Linked DNA regions of Homo sapiens: region 1 is linked to region 2. Evidence: promoter capture Hi-C in 16 types of primary human blood cells and fetal thymus (Javierre and others, 2016). All regions are on one chromosome and are shown on one strand. Each heading gives the region's core, a stretch centred on a gene start or on the middle of the fragment in contact. The rest is flanking DNA. Distances are from core to core; before and after follow the strand shown.

Evidence for each region. Contacts are between HindIII fragments. The CHiCAGO score rates a contact against its expected background, and 5 or more counts as called.
Region 1: a fragment that was not itself captured here is called in contact with the fragment with the promoter of STAU1 in region 2 in 2 of 17 cell types (fetal thymus and naive CD8 T cells); the score reaches 8.7 in fetal thymus.

The regions. Positions count from the first base shown.
Region 1 is chr20:49,911,498-49,915,033 of GRCh38, forward strand. All of the region lies in intron 1 of SPATA2 (spermatogenesis associated 2), which reads right to left. Among named protein-coding and RNA genes, the nearest start is that of SPATA2, 2.3 kb to the right of the region's middle. RefSeq lists an enhancer at 3,050-3,219. The HindIII fragment of the contact is 2,077 bases long and covers 1,098-3,174 here.
Region 2 is chr20:49,186,607-49,189,737 of GRCh38, forward strand. It overlaps STAU1 (staufen double-stranded RNA binding protein 1), which reads right to left and starts at 1,728. Exons shown (of 14, transcript NM_017453.4): 1 at 1,510-1,728. RefSeq lists an enhancer at 472-541 and silencers at 942-1,101, 1,332-2,001. The HindIII fragment of the contact is 4,529 bases long and covers 554-3,131 here.

The DNA.
Region 1 (3,536 bases), core at 886-3,385, 730 kb after region 2:
TACCAAAATTTAAAAAAAAATTAGACGGGTGTGGCAGCATGCGCCTGTAATCACAGCTACTCGGGAGGCTGAGGCAGGAGAATTGCTAGAACCCAGGAGGCGGAGGCTGCAGTGAGCCGAGATCGCCCCATTGCACTCCAGCCTGGGCAACAGAGCGAGACTCCGTCTCTAAAAAAAAAAAAAGAAAAAGAAAAAGAAAAGAGAAAAAGAGAAATGGATGCTGCAAAGGATGTCTGCATTCACGATGCCATCACTTTAGTTTCTCATTGGTACCTCCCAAGAATCCTGGGAGATCAGCTGGAGAGCAAAGAAACGGGCTCAGAAAGATGGCATGAGGTACGACAAGTAGCTCAAGGTTAGCAGATGATGGACCCGATAATCCAAGCCTGGCCTTCTGACTTGGAACCTGTATTCCTCTCACCACCCCACGATTCCCATGTCCAGCAAGCATTTCTGCAGCCCCCACCCTCTGCCTGAGCTGGACCCAGTCGGGGAATGGGGATGGGTGGGACAGGTAGAGGACAGCAATAAAGGAGACACATCCTGCCTGCAGCTCTAGCTGGAAGAGCATACCACCTAGTATCAAAGTAGGTATGTGCTCTAACTTCATACTGTTCTGTCCATAAAAAAATAAACAATTTAAAATGTATATTCTCTTAAAAAATAAAAATGCAGGCCAGGCGCGGTGGCTCACGCCTGTAATCCTACAACTCTGGGAGGCCAAGGTGGGTGGATCGCCTGAGATTGGGAGTTTGAGACTAGCCTGGCCAACATAGCGAAACCCCGCCTCTACTAAAAATACAAAAATTAGCTGGACGAACACCTGTAATCCCAGCTACTCAGGAGGCTGAGGCAGGAGAATGGCGTGAACCCAGGAGGGAGAGGTTGCAGTGAGCTGAGATCGTGCCATTGCACTCCAGCCTGGGCAACAGAGCAAAAACTCCATCTCTACATAAATAAATGTATTGCACCACTGGAGAGGATAGTCACACATGCATTTACCATTCTTGACTTATCTAAGAGAAGCTGCCATCACGCCTCTGGCCCCAGGGTCTGTTTTTTGGTAGTCTGAGAACCATTCAAACACAGAGACATTAAGCTTCCGAATACTGCTGTAATTTTTCTCCAAGGAAGTCAGCCTTGAACTCAAAGAGACTGATTTTTTACAAAGTCAGCCAGTCTCAAGCTCGGCTCAGCGTCTGCTGCTCTATAATCGCACCACAGTCCACACCCTTGTTTGTTGCTGAAAAACAATAAATAAAGGAAAGGGATCCAAACAGCCCAGCTGATGTTCAAAATACTCACAATAAGGACAGGAAGCCTATCTAAAACAAATCTCAAACCAACCTGGGTAGGTGAGGGAAAAGGCGGAAGAAAGTAAAAGCTAAAAGATAATTAAGGGCAAGACAAGCCTGGACAACATAGTTAGACTCCGTCTCTACAAAAAAAAAAAAAAAAAAAATTAGGTGGGTGTGGTGACACCCACCTGTAGTCTTAGCTACTTGGGAGTCTGAGGTGGGGGGATCCACTGAGCCCAGGAGTTTGAGGCTGCAGTGAGCTATGATGGCACCACTGCACTCCGGCCTGGGTGACAGAGCAAGACCTTGTCTCAATCAGTCAATAAGGAAAGGAAAGAAAGAGACTAACAATTACTGAGGTTCTACTATGTGCTAAGCATTGGGCTTCCCACTTTACCTACATCATCCCATTTAATCCTCACAACTCTATAAGGAAAACAGGCTCTTCCCATTAAAACAACCTGCCCAACAGAGTTTGAAAGGGTCAGAGCTGGAATCTGAACTCTTGCTGGGAGGCCCTTGATGCCTGGGCTTTCTCCAATTTACCTCACTCATTTATTGTTACATCAGTACCATTTACCAAGGGATTACTGTGTGGCATCCCTCTGCTAACTGCTCTGTGAAAACCAATGAAATCCACAGGATAGATCCAAGGTTAAAGAGGAAACTGAGGCTCGGAGAGGCCAACTCACTTACCCTAAGTCGTAAGGCTAGGAAGAAGTGGATCTGAGCTCTGAACCTAGGTCTAACGCCAAAACTCCGACTCTTGCAAAGCCATCCTGCTGCATCTGCTGGACAGCTCTACTCGAAAGTGTTTGGCTAAGTTAGAATGCCTTATGGCGGCGCGAGCAGAGTTGAGTTACAAAAATTCCTGTAGTAGCAAAATTCCCATCTTCCCACACCGAATGGGGCTAGGAGAGCTAATCTCTATATGATGTAAGCTCAAGGGCCAAGGAAAGAGGCTGGTCAGAGACATCGGCCAGTGATGAAGCAGCTGACATCATCCCTGCTGAAAACATTTTCTGAGAATACAAGATGCCTTGTAGCTGGTCATAGCTGGTGTTTTTTCTGAGCACAGAGCCAGCAATTCATTCCCAGCACTCTGCAAGAACAACAAAATACGCTCTCTGCAAAAACATCGTGGTTACAGGAGACCGAGACAGCCCAGCGACAGAAGCTGCTAATTTCTCCAAGCAACCCAAGGATTGGAACGCCAAGCCGTGCCAGTCTGGTGGAAAAAAAAAAAAAAAAAAACCCAAAAAACAAAAAAACAGCACTGTGAATATCCTGAACACAGAGACAGGCAGGTGCCCAGAGTCAACGGCTCCAGTCAGCACCTCCTGCACCCACAATCTAGGTACCTTCTTGAAAAGCAAGTCAATGGAAAAAGAGATATTGCACAGTCAGGGAGCCAGTGGCTTCTTTAGTTATTTTTTGAACATCTAAGAGGAAAGCTGTATCTGTTTAGAGTCCCACTGCATGGAAGTGAAGTGATTCCGAGTAGCTAAGCATTAGCTTGGCTTTACCTCAGCTGGCCCATTCAAGCAGAAATGTTCCCCAAGCAGCATTTGAAGGCGCCCCCTCTCTGCACAGGCAGACCTATTTTGGTCTGTGCACTGCCCCTGTCCACAGGTTTACACATCCCTGGTCTAGCTCCATCAGCCTCCAAACAGGAGACGGGGAAGTCAGTTCAACCCCCTCCACCTCCCCACCCACACCAATGCACTCGTTCCAAGCAAGAGGCTCCGAGAAACATCCAAGGCACCTTCCACTGGCTGTGAAACACCAGAAGGTCCCCACACTCCTACTAGATTCCAAAGAAATTCACACAGAGTCCTTCCAAACCTCTGAAAATAACCTCAGCGGTGCTGAAAGAAGCTTCCCTAGTGGCAGCTGCCTCTCTCGGAGAAGCTCTGAAGGAAGCTGTTTCCCTCCCTGCAGGGGACAGAAGCTGGCGGCTGCTAAGTCCCAGCTCGGTCATTCCTACAGCCTCGGGGGGCCACGTCAGTTGTGAAAAACAGCCCAGTCTCAAATTCTGGCCCCCCCTACGGCTTCGTGAATTGAATGAAGTAACAGGAACTATCACTTATTGGACGCCTGCTGTATGCCAGAGGCCCTGCATGATCTCATTCCATCTCCACTCCAGCCCTAGCAACCAGGTTCAATCACTTAAATAGGCAACTGAGGCTCTTAAGATGAAGTGACTTATCCAAGGTCACACAGTGAGTACAAACCCAG
Region 2 (3,131 bases), core at 478-2,977:
CCTATAAAACTAAGTACAGAATTTTTAAAAACCCAGTATGTTTTAGTAAAGTTGCTGTTCTAAAAATCCCACCTGTCACCAGGATAACCGAAACTGCTCCCTCTACACTCCAACTGTATTTTTAGTTTTTACCTCAACAAGTAGCAATGCAATTTACACTTGGTAAGCACGGATTCCTGAAACGCCAAAATCAACCGGGAACCTGATTTAACTCCACCACGCTCTTAACAATGAAAGCTACAAGCAGAAGAGAAGTGTGACCTTAAAAACTTCCACACAGCCGAAGAACAGTGGCAGAACAGACTGAAGCACGTATCTTCGCGGAACAGAAGAAAACTTCCACACAAGCAATACTGCAACACGGAGGCGGGGCAAGGGCTTAAAAGGAAAGTCAGCCAACAGGGAGGGGTGAATATAAGCAAAGCTTCCGTGAAAAAAAACTTATCGAGGTGTAGAGCAAGACAAGACAGACAAATTTTTCCATCTCCGTACACCCCCCTTCAGAGCCCAACACACAGCAAGTGCTCTAGATAGGTTTGCTCAACTCAAGGGAAGCTTCTGCCAGCAACTTTCCCAGAAATGGAATGACAAGAAGAAGCTGGATGATGGCGGGGCGGGGAGAAATGGACAGGTTGCTCATCCTGCGGGAGATGGTGAATATCCTGCAGTTGCCTAAGCGGAGATGGAAAGAAACAGCATCCATCGTTTACAGACTGTCAACTACAGTGTCCCAATTAAGCGTACGCCCCTTTCAGATGTTAACAACTGAAAACAATGCCCTGGCTCTGGACATGGGCACGCGGAACACTGCAGCCTCTAAGAAACCCAAACGGATAGGTAGGTCAACTTCTATCCACTCTGCCCATTAAATTATACCTTCATATCACGCTAATAAATTATGCAGACGGTTTACTGGGACACGCTGTGGGTCTGGCACTCTGATAAGCGCTTTACACGCCCCATTTCACTGAACCTTAAGAGGCAGGGACGGTATTAGCAGCCCCTTTTCCAACCAAGACACAAAGACTTTTTAAGTGTCTTGCCTAACGGGGCAGAGCCGGGTTCGGCACCCGTTTTGGACACCTGGGCCGTGCTCTTAACCACTAAGCTACAGACCTGGGCCGGCGACACTGAGAGGCTCCAGCCCTCGGGGACCTGAAGCAGGGACCCCCCCCCCCCCCCGCCTGCGCCCCAGCCCCGGGAATAACTTCGGCATCCCCGCGCGCGCCATGCGGGACGAGGAAAGGCGGCCGCAGCACCTGTTTGTGGCACCGGTGAGGGCTGGAGGGGATGGGGGCGCCCGGGGCCAGGCCTCAGGGCGCCCCGAGGCGAGGGAACGCAAGAGGACCCGCCTCCTCCGGGAAGGCCCCGCGGGCTAGAGAGAGGCCCGGGAGAAGGCGGAGGGGTGCGCGGGCCCGCCGAGGCCTAGGCCCCACCCGCCGCCCACCTCCCCACCGCGGCGGCGCCCGCGAGGGCCCCACCAGGCCCGGCCCGGCCCGGCCGCCTCACCTGGCTGCTGCTCCGAGCTCGTCCCCCGGCCGGCGGTCCTGGGCGGTGGCGGCGAGGAGGGGAAGGAAGAAGGAAAAAAGGGAGAGGAAGAAGGGACGAAGGGAGGGAAGAGGCGGAGTGGCCGTGGAGGAGGCGGGCGCCGCCGGGCCGGGGGGGGGAGGCGGTCAAAGGAAGCGGGAGCCGAGAGAGACGCGGCAGCCGCCGGCGCAAACGCTGAAGAGCCGCTCAGGCGCCCGCAGCCCGGCAGGAAGTGACGGGGGAGGGGCAGGCGCCCGCCCCCGGCCCCCGCCCGCCTCCAGGCCCGGCCCCGGCCCCACCCCCACCCACGGTCCGAACCACAAGTTCCGGCTGGCACTGCGGCGGAGCCTGCGCTCGCAAGGCACGCCGGGGGCCCAGCGGGAGGAGCGCCCTGTCCCGCCTGGACCGCAGCGGCCCGTCCTGAGTCCCGGGGCCTGCCGGGAGTTGTAGTTCTGGTGGGAGTTTCGCGCTGCCTGCTGGACTCGAAGCGGGTCTGGGAGAACCCAGCCTACCTTCTTTCCTCCTCCACTTCCTTTTTCCTTCCTTGCTGTCGCTTCTTCCTCTTGTCCTGCCTCTGGCCTTCCTTTCTCTCCTTCCTGCAGTTGTTTCTTCCTCCATCTGTAAATGTTCATTAAATGCTTGCCATATGCAAGGCATTGCTCCAAGAGCTAAGAATGTAGTGGTGAACTGACAAAAATCCCTGCCCTCGTGGAGCTTACATTCTTGTGTAAGTAAAATACACAATAAATAAAATTGAAAAATGTGTAGTGAGATAAAAGACAATGGCCCGGGCGCGTTGGCTCAGGCCTCTAATCCCGGCACTTTGGGAGGCCGAGGCGGGCGGATCACTAGGTCAAGAGATCGAGACCATCCTGGCTACCACGGTGAAACCCCCGTCTCTACTGAAAATACAAAAAATTAGCCGGGCGTGGTGGCGGGCGCCTGTAGGTAAACAGCTACTCGGGAGGCTGAGGCAGGAGAATCGCTTGAACCCGGGAGGCGGAGATTGCAGTGAGCTGAGATCGCGCCGCTGCACTCCAGCCTTGGCGACAAAGAGACACTGGTCTCAAAAAAAAAAAAAAAAAAAAAAAAAAAAAAAAAAAAAAAGACGAGAAGTGCCAGATTACTATTTATTTCACCCAGACCTAGATAAACTAAGTGGTTTTTAGCAGCTGTATTGTATGGGAGGTTGGAGAGAGGGTGGCCAGTAAAGAATCTTGGCCAGGCGCAGTGGCTCACGCCTGTAATCCCGGCACTTTGGGAGGCCGAGGTGGGCGGATCACCTGAGGTCAGGAGTTCGAGACCAGCCTGACTAACATGGTGAAACCCCGTCTCTACTAGCCGGATGCAGTGGTGGGCGCCTGTAATCACAGCTACTTGGGAGGCTGAGGCAGGAGAATCTCTTGAACCCGGGAGACGGAGGTTGCAGTGAGCCGAGATCACGCCATTGCACTCCAACCTGGGCAACAGAGTGAGACTCTGTCTCAAAAAAAAAAAAAAAAAAAAAAAGAATCTTGAACTTCTGCACACTCAGCGAAAATTATGCTCGCGTTGTGAGAGGTCCAAGAAACTGAGAATGAATGAAGGAACTGCAGGTGCACAGA